Linked DNA regions of Homo sapiens: all the other regions are linked to region 3. The links are contacts of gene promoters, found by promoter capture Hi-C in blood cells and fetal thymus (Javierre and others, 2016). All regions are on one chromosome and are shown on one strand. The core of a region is centred on a gene start or on the middle of the fragment in contact, and the rest is flanking DNA. Distances in the headings are between cores, read along the strand shown. Region 1 holds the start of SYP-AS1 (SYP antisense RNA 1). Region 2 overlaps CLCN5 (chloride voltage-gated channel 5). Region 3 holds the start of NDUFB11 (NADH:ubiquinone oxidoreductase subunit B11).

Region 1 (3,533 bases), core at 117-2,616, 2.1 Mb before region 3:
CCGCCCCCTGCATTGCTGATGCTGCTGCTGGCGGACATGGACGTGGTGAATCAGGTACGCGCTCCAGCACCGTGGACAGAGCCCGCCGCCGCCCGGCTGCCTAGGCCGGGTCGCTCAGGCCAGCCGACTCTGGGAGGTGGTGGCCAGGGTCTGGCAGCGGAGACCCGGTCCCCGGCGCTGGGGATGGGGGTCTGCGGCAGGTGAAGGGGAGGAAGGGGGAGGTGGAGAAAAGGAGTGCGCTCTTTGCCGCAGCGAGGGCCGTCCTCACTGCCGCAGCGGGGGCCCCCGGAGCCCCGTTTATTACTGGCGACCGCGAGGGGAGGAATAGGGGCCTGGGGGCTGGAGTGAGGGCAAGGGACAAGGGGAGGGGAGAGTGGAAGGAAGATGGGGGGTGCTGCGGATAAGCTAGGAAATAGAGCGACAGAAGGTGTGGGGGCGGGGATGGGGGAGAGGGCTGGCACCCGCCCCTCCCAAACAGAGACTGTACCCCCATAGGCGACCACCCCTTCCCCCAGAGCACACCTAGGGGACAATCCGGTTTTACTCCTTCCAAAACCCCCAGCCTCCTCACCCCCAACACATAGCGACTGAAGCCGTGTCCCAGCCCTCCCCCACCTTAATCAGTCCAGACCCTCTCCGCCATGTCTCTCGTCTTTGCCACCTCAGAAACTCACCCCCAATCAGTCCCAACCCTTCCCCATCCCCATCACCTCAAATATCTACCGCCACCGCCGTCTAACACACCTTTACCCCTGCAGACCCTTCCCCCACCTGAGCCAAACCGACTCCTGCCCCGTTATGACTCACCTTCACCATCACAACCCCCCCACCCGAATGCACCCCACTCCATCCCCATTCTCTACCCGAACCCCTTCCCCATCCGACTCGCCTTTACGTTTCAAACCTGCTCCCCCTCCTTAACTAGTCCTGACCTCATCCCCATCTCCCTCACCCCCGACTTCCTCTGCCATCTGACTCACCATCTCTTCAGACCTTCCCACCAGTCCTTGGACCCTGGGGCTCACACCATCCCCAAGGTGTCACTTTCTCCTTCTCACCCTCTCCCCGAGGTCACATGCTCCATCCCCTGGGGTCATTGATGGGCAGCCTTGCCGCTCACCTCCCTGTACCTCCAACAACCCCACCCCTTCCCCACTGTTTCTCTCCTCAGCTGGTGGCTGGGGGTCAGTTCCGGGTGGTCAAGGAGCCCCTCGGCTTTGTGAAGGTGCTGCAATGGGTGAGTGTGGTCCGGGCTGTTGGGGCAGAGTGCAGGGAGAGAGGGAGGTCATGGGGTCCAGAAGAGCAGGGGTGGAGTAGGGGCGAGTAGCCAGGGATGAGTGCGGGGGTTGTAGGGGATGGGGGAATTGGGCTCCAGGGTGAGGTTTCAGGGGTCTGAAGCCAGAAAACAGATGAGCTGTGACGTCACATAGGGCTGAGGGTACCCCCGTTGTGAAGTGGGAGACTGTGACGTCCTACCTCCTCTCTTGAAGTGAGGGAGGGGTGGGGGAGGTGGAGCCTGTAGCAGATGCTGGGTGAGAGATGCAAAGTCAGAGAAACCCAGAGACAGTGAAGGTGACAGAGAGAATGAGGGACAGGGAATGATAAAGACAGAGATGGAAATACTGAGAAAAAAAAAAGAAATATGGAGATGAGAAGAGATACAGACATAAGAGAGAAGAGACAAACAGAAACAAAGAAAAAGGAGACACAGAAAACAGATGCAAAGAGAAACAGACGCAGGGAGAGAGGCAGGAAAACAGGGTGAGGGAGAGAGAGACACAGAGAGAAAGAGACACTCAGAAAAAAGAGAAACCAACACACAGAGGCAAGAGGGAGACAGAGAGAGAACCATCCGGAGACCGAGTGAGAGACAGGACAGAGAGACAGAGACAAACAGACCAAGAAACAGAAAGACACAGACATACAGGCATACACTTACACAGACAGAGAAAAAAGAGACAAAAAGAGACATCGACAGATCAGATAGGCAGAGGCAGAGAGGATCAGAGACACAGAGAGACAAAGAGACATCTGAGAAAGACAAAGACACATAGAGAAACAGAGATACCGAGAGAAACAGAGACACAGTGAGATACACAGAGAACAACAGAGACAAACAGAGAAGAGGGAGGTCAGCATGGAAAGGCAGAGACAGAGAGAGACACAGAGAGAGAAACAGGAAGAGACAGCCATACCCTTGTAATCAGCTTGTCCTTGGTCCCGATGAGCCCTGATTAGGGGGTGGGGGTGGGGACTGCTCCATCTGCTGCTGCCTGTGCTGGGCCCCCGATCTGTCCAGAGGAGGGCACCTCCCTCCCACATGCACACAGGTTCACTGTGGCCATCCCCATCCCTGCTGCCCAAGGTCTTCGCCATCTTCGCCTTTGCCACATGCGGCAGCTACAGTGGGGAGCTCCAGCTGAGCGTGGATTGTGCCAACAAGACCGAGAGTGACCTCAGCATCGAGGTCGAGTTCGAGTACCCCTTCAGGTGTGCTCCCACCCTGGGATACCAACAGACCTGGGAGAGGAAGGGGCAGGGTGGAACCGGCCAATACCTCCCCCCGCAAGTAGCTCCTGCCCAGCTCCCACCTCGAGGCTACATCCACTGGGATCACTGAGCACCTGCCTTGTACCTGGCACTGCTCTGGACTCTAGGACTATGTGGTGAGCAAGGCAGACATAGGCTGTGGCCCTCTGGCTCTGTTCCAGCGAAGGGGTAAGGGACAGGCAATAAACAAGATACAAAAGTAAGACAGGTGTATATACATACCTTAACCCAGTAGGTACCCAATTAATGTTAGCCAATATTATTATTTAATCCCCATTCATTCATTCTATACACATTTTTGAGAACTTATTTTATATCTGGTACTACTCAAAGTGCTGGAAGCATGATAGTAACTAAAACAGACCCAACTCCCGCCAGGCACAGTGGCTCACGCCTGTAATCCCAGCACTTTGAGAGGCCGAGGTGGGCGGATCACCTGAGGTCAGGAGTTCGAGACCAGCCTGACCAACATGGAGAAACCCCGTCTCTACTAAAAATACAAAATTAGCCAGGCGTGGTCATGCATGCCTGTAATCCCGGCTACTCAGGAGGCTGAGGCAGGAGAATCACTTGAACCTGGGAGCCGAAATCGCGCCATTGCACTCCAGCCTGGGCAACAAGAGCGAAACTCCATCTCCAAAAAAAAAAAAACCAGACCCAACTCCCTACCTTCATGGAGCCTACATTATAACAAATAAATTAACAAAGAGGATAATAGCAGACTGAGAGAAACTCGAGGAGATCCTCATGTAGGGTTTTATGGTAGAGAATAGAATAATGAGGGGTGCTGCTTAGATATAGGGAAAAATTAAACCCAATTAAACAATTCTGACATTTATTGAGCTCACACTGTGTGCCGGGCAATACACTGGGTGCTAGGTGCACAAGAATGAGCACGGCTGGCATGGGCACTACCCTCACAATGATGTTTACCTCCTGCAGGGTGGGATGACAGAGACCCACAGACACAATCCCCGCACAGG
Region 2 (3,898 bases), core at 196-2,695, 2.8 Mb before region 3:
TGTTGGCCCCATTTAAGAGGTATGGGAATTCAGATCAAATTCTCCATGGAGGAACCAGACAGCAATGAGCCAAGAACCTAAGGAGATTTGGGCTCCTGTAGCCCTTAGGGTTCCTCAACAAGCTCTACAGACTGACTCAGAAGCTTCCTTGAGCTGAGAACAGACTCACACATTGCCTCTTCCATGAGCCCACGGAAAGAATACTGGAATAGGGAATTAGGTGACCTGGATTTTAATACTAGCTCTAGGATCAACTACTACCTGTTTGACGTTGGGCATATCACTTAACCTCTAGGAATTGAGCTAGATGTTTGTTGTTGTTTTTTGAGATGGAGTCTGGCTCTGTCGCCCAGGCTGGAGGGCAGTGGCACGATCTCGGCTCACTGCAAGCTCCGCCTCCTGGGTTCACGCCATTCTCCTGCCTCAGCCTCCCGAGTAGCTGGGACTACAGGCACCCGCCACCATGCCCGACTAACTTTTTGTATATTTAGTAGAGGCGGGGTTTCACCGTGTTAGCCAGGATGGTCTCGATCTCCTGACCTCGTGATCCGCCCGCCTCGGCCTCACAAAGTGCTGGGATTACAGGCGTGAGCCACCGCGCCCGGCTGCTAGATGTTTTCTAAGAATCTTTTCAAGTCTAAACTTCTACTTAAAGACCCAAACAGACAACCACAGGACAGGGCTTCCAAGGACAACCTAAAATTACCTCCACAGAACAAGGTCCCAGTCCCACCCCAGGTTATAAGAAAATAATAGTGATAGTAGTAATAACGGCTATTGCTAAATTTTACTGAGCACTTATTATATGCTACACAATATTCTAAATGTTTTACTATTATAATAATGGCATACACTTATATGGCATTTACTATGTTCCAAGTGCTCTGCATATATTAGCTTAATTTCTCTTCACACCAAGCCTATCAGGTGTTCTACTTTTCTCCCTTTTCAAAAATTGATATATAATAGCTGTACATATTTGGGGGGTATATGTGATATTTTGATACACGTATACAATGTGTAATGATCAAATCAGGGTAACTGGGATATTCATCACCTCTAACATTTATCTTTTCTTTGTGTTAGAAACATTCCAATTTTTTACTTCAAGCCATTTTGAAATATATAATTATTGTTAACTGTAGTCTCCCTACTGTACTATTGAATACTAAAACTTTTTCCTTCTCTCTAGCTGTATGTTTATAACCATTAACCCACTTCTCTTCATTCCCCAAACTCCTTCCCTTCCCAGCCTCTGGAAACCACCATTCGACTTTCTACCTTCATGAGATCCACATTTTTTAACTCCCACATATGAGTGAGAATATGCAGTATTTATCTTTCTGTGCCTGGCTTATTTTACTTAACATAATGACTTCCAGTTCCATCCATGTTGCTGCAAATGACAGGATTTCATTCTTTTTATGGCTGAATAATATTTTGTTGAATATATGTAACACATGTTTTTTATCCATTCATCCAGTGATGGACACTTAAGTTGATTTCCTATCTTGGCTATTGTGAGTAGTGCTGCAATATACATGGGAGTGCAGCTCTCTCTTCAATACTGATTTCCTTTCTTTTGGCTATATACTCAGCAATGGGATGAGTTATATTACTATCTCCATTTTGTAAAGGAGAAAACTTCCACACAGAGAGATTAAGTTACTTGCCCAAGGCCTCGTAGCTACCAAGTGACAGAACCAATGGAGTAGAACTCAGACCCACACATTTAACTATCATACCACACTGCTTCCAAACTATCATCGTACTTTGCTGGTTACTTCAGAGGTTAGCCAAAACAAAGGATAAGCTGCAGTTATCCAAAGAGCTTACTTATATAGAATACTCCCCTCTTCACTAATGCTGGAAAAATGAGGTTTCACTTCAATGTAATTTTAAGCACATCTGATTTCAGGGCCTGGGCTTGCAAAATACATTATTTACTATGAAAATATGACATTTTGATTAAGAGTTGTTAAACATTAAAATGTTTTTATTGTAAAATAAATCATTAACTAGTAATGACATTTCCATTAACTACAGAGAAAAAAATACAAGCTCTTTATGCATCATTAGGAACAAAACTTTAGATCCCCATCTGTGCCAATATCAGTTCTGTACTTTCAAAACTGTCTTTGAAACATTGACCTGACAGTACATAGGTGTCTCAACCCAAACAGGTCATCCAAATCCAGTGCACCACCCCCATGCCCATCAGCTGCCTCCCATGCTCCCCATCTCAGAGAATGGCACCAGTGGCCCCCAGGCACCCAAGCTGGTAGTTAATCCAGGCCCATTTCTTGCCACATCCAGTCACAGAACATTCTAGAATCCCATTCTAACCTTACTGCCCCTGCTTCTGCTCAGACCCTTACCATCTCTCCCCTAAACTATTCCAGAAACCTCCTGACTGACTCCCAGTTTTCATCATTTCCAGCTCAGCACTGCTGCCAAAGTAATCTTTCTAAAACAAAATCTGATTATGTTACTTCCCTGTTTAGAATCTTTGTCTTCAGGATAAAGTGTAAAATCCTTCCTAGAACATACAAGGCTCTTTATTATCTGGCCTCCAACTACCTTCCCTGCTTCATCTGAGGTCGCGCCCCTACACATCTCACATGAGGCAAACAGAGCAACTTGGAACTTCCCAAACAGTGCTGCTCTGTCTGCCCAGAATGCAATTCTCTCATTTGCTCCTACTCATTTTTTTAGACCAGCTCAAAACTCAGACTTCATCAAGCTTTTCTCGGGGCTTCCCTTGCTTTTTGTACCTCTCTATTCTAACACTTATTCAACATGGCAAAATTATTTGTTTGTATGTCTGTCTTTAGATGACAAGGAATCTTCTAGCATCCTGCAACTTATTCATCTCTGTATTTCGTTTGTTGAATGAAATAATGTCTCAGGATTTAAGCAAGAATATCCAAACTGCTCTTGATAAATGCCCATTGTGTGAGTCAAAGGAAGCATACAGGCCAAATCCCGTTTCCATAAATGTCTTCTCATTGATAATCTTTATACATGGAAACTACTTGTTACATTTGTGTGCCTACATAAAGTCACAACCAACACAATGAAACATTTTTAAAAGATACATTAGACCACCAACTAACCAACCTGCTGAATATTTCTAGATATTCAAGCTATTTCATTCCACTCCATTTAAGTGGTCTTTAACTTTTTGTGGGTCACAGGCCAATTTTGGTAGTGTTTGTCTATCATTTCTTAAACCCACACTCACTTTTGATAACAATAAAAATCCCACATACCCGTGGAGACTCCTAAACCCTCCAAAGGGCACAAACCGCAACTCCGCTCAAAATAAAACATAACTTTGTATGTGGTAGGAATTCACAAGTTCATGAGAGATGTAATACATCAGCTAAGATACTACTGAGCTTTGCTCTCAGGTAGTTCATATTATTAAAACAGGCGTTTTCCTTCTCAATGTTTATATTGTATCAAATATAAACACTGTAACATTAAATATGCTCTTTCAAACTGCATACATCACAAAGTTTTTATTGGGAAGATGAAGCTGGAGAGGCAGTGACATCTGTCTCCCCAACCTTATGGTGGGGAATCTTATGATAGAAATTTGCCAGAAACAAATGAAAAACACAAATGGGAAAAAATATCCTGTCTCCTGGCATATAACCCCCAATGATCACTTATTTAAATGAAGGGAGTTCTTTTAAATGCTGCTGGCATGGCATTTTCCTACTTCTCCTACAACCCCACTTTTAAATAATTTAAACTTATAGCTAGCAGCAGCTTCTTTTTAAACTAATGTGTTTTGTCCCTGCAAAGACAAAGGGTTAAATTAAAGAACAGCTGGCTGCCTGCCATTGGCTGGGTGGGGAACGGTTGGGTGAGGGTAGAGAATAGAGTAGGA
Region 3 (3,628 bases), core at 858-3,357:
GACGAGACAGCTGCCACCTCCCTGGGCTCCTGGCCAACACAGCCTTGGCCCTCACACAGCAACTGGCTCAGCCCTGAGCCCTGTCTCTTATGTGCAGCCCGGTCCTAAGGTGGTTCCCTCCCCAGGGCTCAAGCCCGGTTTCCAGAGGCAAAAGGGGCCCTTTTGGAGGCTGTTCTGAACCACTGTGCTCTTCTATTGGGATGGAGCAGCAGCCACTTCATCCAACCCTCAGGGCTGTGGTGAGAACTCAGGGAGTCCTGAGAACCCTGTGACCCAGCCAGAGGTCAGGATGAATCCCAGATCTTCAGGCCCCACCCTCTGAATAAGAAGCAGGTAAAGCCAGGCAATAATAGCACCTGCTCAACACTAGGTTGCTGCCACACCTTTGCTCTATGCTCGTGCACACACATACACAGACAAACACACTCCAATTTTCTCTTCCTCCTCAAGCCACAGGGAACCCGAGTTACCTGCTCCCAGGTGGGCAAGAGTTAGAATCACACAGAGGCACTGGCGTCTGAGAGCACAAAAACCTTCAAGAGACTCTGGCAAAGGGGCCAGAGTCACACAGTAACATCCACCACAGCCAAGGGCCAGTCACAGACACGAGCCCCAAATAACTACGGGCCCACATCACAGAAGGAACACACAGTAAGGACCACAATTACACAGTGGGTCCCCTTTCCATGGATGAGCGTCAGTGTCACAGATACAAACTCCCCAAAAGAAGGGGCAATGAGTCACACACACATTCCCTGCATGCCCCTTCCCACCCAATAAGTGGGTTAGGGTCAATCAAAAGACAGTCGTCCCCCAAGCCCCGCCCCATGGATAAGGATCAGAGTCACAGACCGCCCCCCCTCAAAGGGTAAAGACCAGAGTCACATCCCCCCTCCGATCCCCCAGGAATAGAGACCAGAACCACAGAATATTTCCCCATGGACCGATAAACACCAGAGTAACACAGAGCAGCATCCCCTCTCCTATGCACAAACTCAAAGTCGCAGACAACCGCTTCCCCACTGATAAACTTCGATGTAGCCGACACAGTGATCCACAGTAGCCCACTCCCATCCGTCCCTCCCTTCCCCCAACCCGCATGCACCCATCCCATGTCCCAGTCGCGCACGCGCCTTTGCTCACACCAAAAAAAAAAAAAAAAAAAAAAAAAACCAAAAAAAAAAAAACCCTCCCGGGTTGAGACATTGCACCAACCCCTCCGTTCCGCGCATCTCCCCCGACCCGAAGTCCGCCCTCGCGCCTCCTCTACGTCCCCGCCCCGGGCCCCTTACCTCCGCCCCCACGACCAGCGTCGACGCTCACCTTCTCGGCCCGGGCTGTCAAGGAAGGGCTCCCAGACATCACCTCTGCCCGCCGCCACCTCCTCCAACTCTCCCAGCTCAGCCGGAGCCGGAGCGCGCAACAACCAAGTCCGAGACTGGAGGCAGATCGGGGGGAGGGGAGAAGCGCCAAGCGCGCTGCCCTCCCAGGGAAACTCACTGCCGCCTACTCCCAGCCGGCCACAGTCACCAGCTCAAAATGGCGACGACGAGAAGGGAGTCGGCGCTCCGACCACCATCCACCTACTAAGGAAGCGCGCTCTGGCCGGCCCCGGCGATTGGTCACCGCCCGCTAGGGGACAGCCCTGGCCTCCTCTGATTGGCAAGCGCTGGCCACCTCCCCACACCCCTTGCGAACGCTCCCCTAGTGGAGAAAAGGAGTAGCTATTAGCCAATTCGGCAGGGCCCGCTTTTTAGAAGCTTGATTTCCTTTGAAGATGAAAGACTAGCGGAAGCTCTGCCTCTTTCCCCAGTGGGCGAGGGAACTCGGGGCGATTGGCTGGGAACTGTATCCACCCAAATGTCACCGATTTCTTCCTATGCAGGAAATGAGCAGACCCATCAATAAGAAATTTCTCAGCCTGGCCGAAAATGGTTGGCCCCACGAAGCCACGACAACTGGAGGCAAAGAGGGTTGCTCAACGCCCCGCCTCATTGGAAAACCAAATCAGATCTGGGACCTATATAGCGTGGCGGAGGCGGGGCGATGATTGTCGCGCTCGCACCCACTGCAGCTGCGCACAGTCGCATTTCTTTCCCCGCCCCTGAGACCCTGCAGCACCATCTGTCATGGCGGCTGGGCTGTTTGGTTTGAGCGCTCGCCGTCTTTTGGCGGCAGCGGCGACGCGAGGGCTCCCGGCCGCCCGCGTCCGCTGGGAATCTAGCTTCTCCAGGACTGTGGTCGCCCCGTCCGCTGTGGCGGGAAAGCGGCCCCCAGAACCGACCACACCGTGGCAAGAGGACCCAGAACCCGAGGACGAAAACTTGTATGAGAAGGTGAGAGGCGGGGGGGGGGGGGGGGGTAGTGGGGACGGAACCCCGAAGGGGTCAGTCCGGGATCGGCAGATGGGGCGCTGTAGAGGACGTTCTTAGGCAGTAGAGGACTGCGCGGCCGGCGAAAGCCTAGAAGACTTGGGAATTTTGCCTACCTTGTGTTCCTCCTTTGTCTCTCGGTATCTTCGTTCCAGGGCCAGAGGCAGGATTGGTTTTATTTTGCAGACAGAAATCACACCTCAAGTGGACAGCGCTCAAAACACGTTAGAAGCAGTATAGTACAACGATAATACTAAACACCGATATGGCACTTGCTCGTTGCCGTCTGCATTCTTTTTTTTTTTTTTATAGGGACGAGATCTCGCTATGTTGCCCAGGCTGGTCTCGAACTCCTGGCTCAAGCGATCCTCTCGCCTCGGCCTCCCAAGGTGCTGGGATTACAGGCATGAGCCACCGCTCCGGGCCCCGTCTGTGTTCTAAACACTTGACATGCATTAGCTCATCTTATACTCGAAACAAACCCCATTTCGAGGTGGGCTCTATTATTATACTCATCCTACAGATGAGGAAACTGAGGCACAGAGATGTTAAGTGGATTGCCCTAGCTCACATAACTGAATACATGGTGGAGGTGGAACTGGTATTTGAATTTAGGGCTACCAGGTCTGCTGTGCTGTATTAATAGCAGACGCTGTGAAATCAGGCAGCACTGACGGTTACCCACCCGTGTGATCTTGGTAGCATAAACCCTTGGTGCCTCAGTTTCTTTGTCTGTAAGATGGGAACAGTAATAGGACACCTTCTAAAAAATAGGACACCCCACCTGCCTCATGTAATTAAATGAGTAAAAATGGTCAGAACAGCAGCTGGCACTTCGTAAGTATGTACTCAGCACTAGAATGTGTTTATTATTGCCATGTTTCACCTCACTGAGATATTGTGAGGTGTTTCTATGTGAAAAGACTGGCACATAATAAGTACTTCATCAATACTAACCTCTGGTTAAGGGGCTTGGATATATAGGATGCTTGTTCATTCTGTAAATATGTATTGAGGGCCTGCTGTATGCCAGGCTCAGTTCAGGGCCCTGGGGATACAGCAGTGTGGAAATCAGACAAAGCCCATGCTCTCATAGAGCTTACATGATAGTGGGGAAGACAGAAAATAAACAGTAAAATATTAGAAAACAATAATACAAAGTAGTATAATAGATAATATAACATGAGAATGTATGATATACAGAGAATGGGGAAAGTATGCTACTTAGGTAAACATAGACTAGAAAGAGACAGAAG

Evidence for each region. Contacts are between HindIII fragments. The CHiCAGO score rates a contact against its expected background, and 5 or more counts as called.
Region 1: the fragment with the promoter of SYP-AS1 here is called in contact with the fragment with the promoter of NDUFB11 in region 3 in 1 of 17 cell types (neutrophils); the score reaches 9.7 in neutrophils.
Region 2: a contact is called between a fragment that was not itself captured here and the fragment with the promoter of NDUFB11 in region 3, in 1 of 17 cell types (monocytes). The highest score is 5.3, in monocytes.

What each region holds. Positions count from the first base shown.
Region 1 is chrX:49,196,672-49,200,204 of GRCh38, reverse strand. SYP-AS1 (SYP antisense RNA 1) reads right to left here and starts at 1,366. Exons shown (of 2, transcript NR_046649.1): 1 at 981-1,366. SYP (synaptophysin) reads left to right here and starts at 12. Exons shown (of 7, transcript NM_003179.3): 1 at 12-54; 2 at 1,172-1,237; 3 at 2,366-2,490. The coding sequence starts at 19. RefSeq lists silencers at 1-59, 130-179. The HindIII fragment of the contact is 12,908 bases long and covers 1-3,533 here.
Region 2 is chrX:49,925,353-49,929,250 of GRCh38, reverse strand. The region is part of intron 3 of CLCN5 (chloride voltage-gated channel 5); the gene reads right to left. Among named protein-coding and RNA genes, the nearest start is that of CLCN5, 4.7 kb to the right of the region's middle. The HindIII fragment of the contact is 2,600 bases long and covers 146-2,745 here.
Region 3 is chrX:47,143,181-47,146,808 of GRCh38, reverse strand. NDUFB11 (NADH:ubiquinone oxidoreductase subunit B11) reads left to right here and starts at 2,107. Exons shown (of 3, transcript NM_001135998.3): 1 at 2,107-2,336. The coding sequence starts at 2,130. RBM10 (RNA binding motif protein 10) reads right to left here and starts at 1,588. Exons shown (of 24, transcript NM_005676.5): 1 at 1,324-1,588. RefSeq lists an enhancer at 1,295-1,564. The HindIII fragment of the contact is 2,886 bases long and covers 1,763-3,628 here.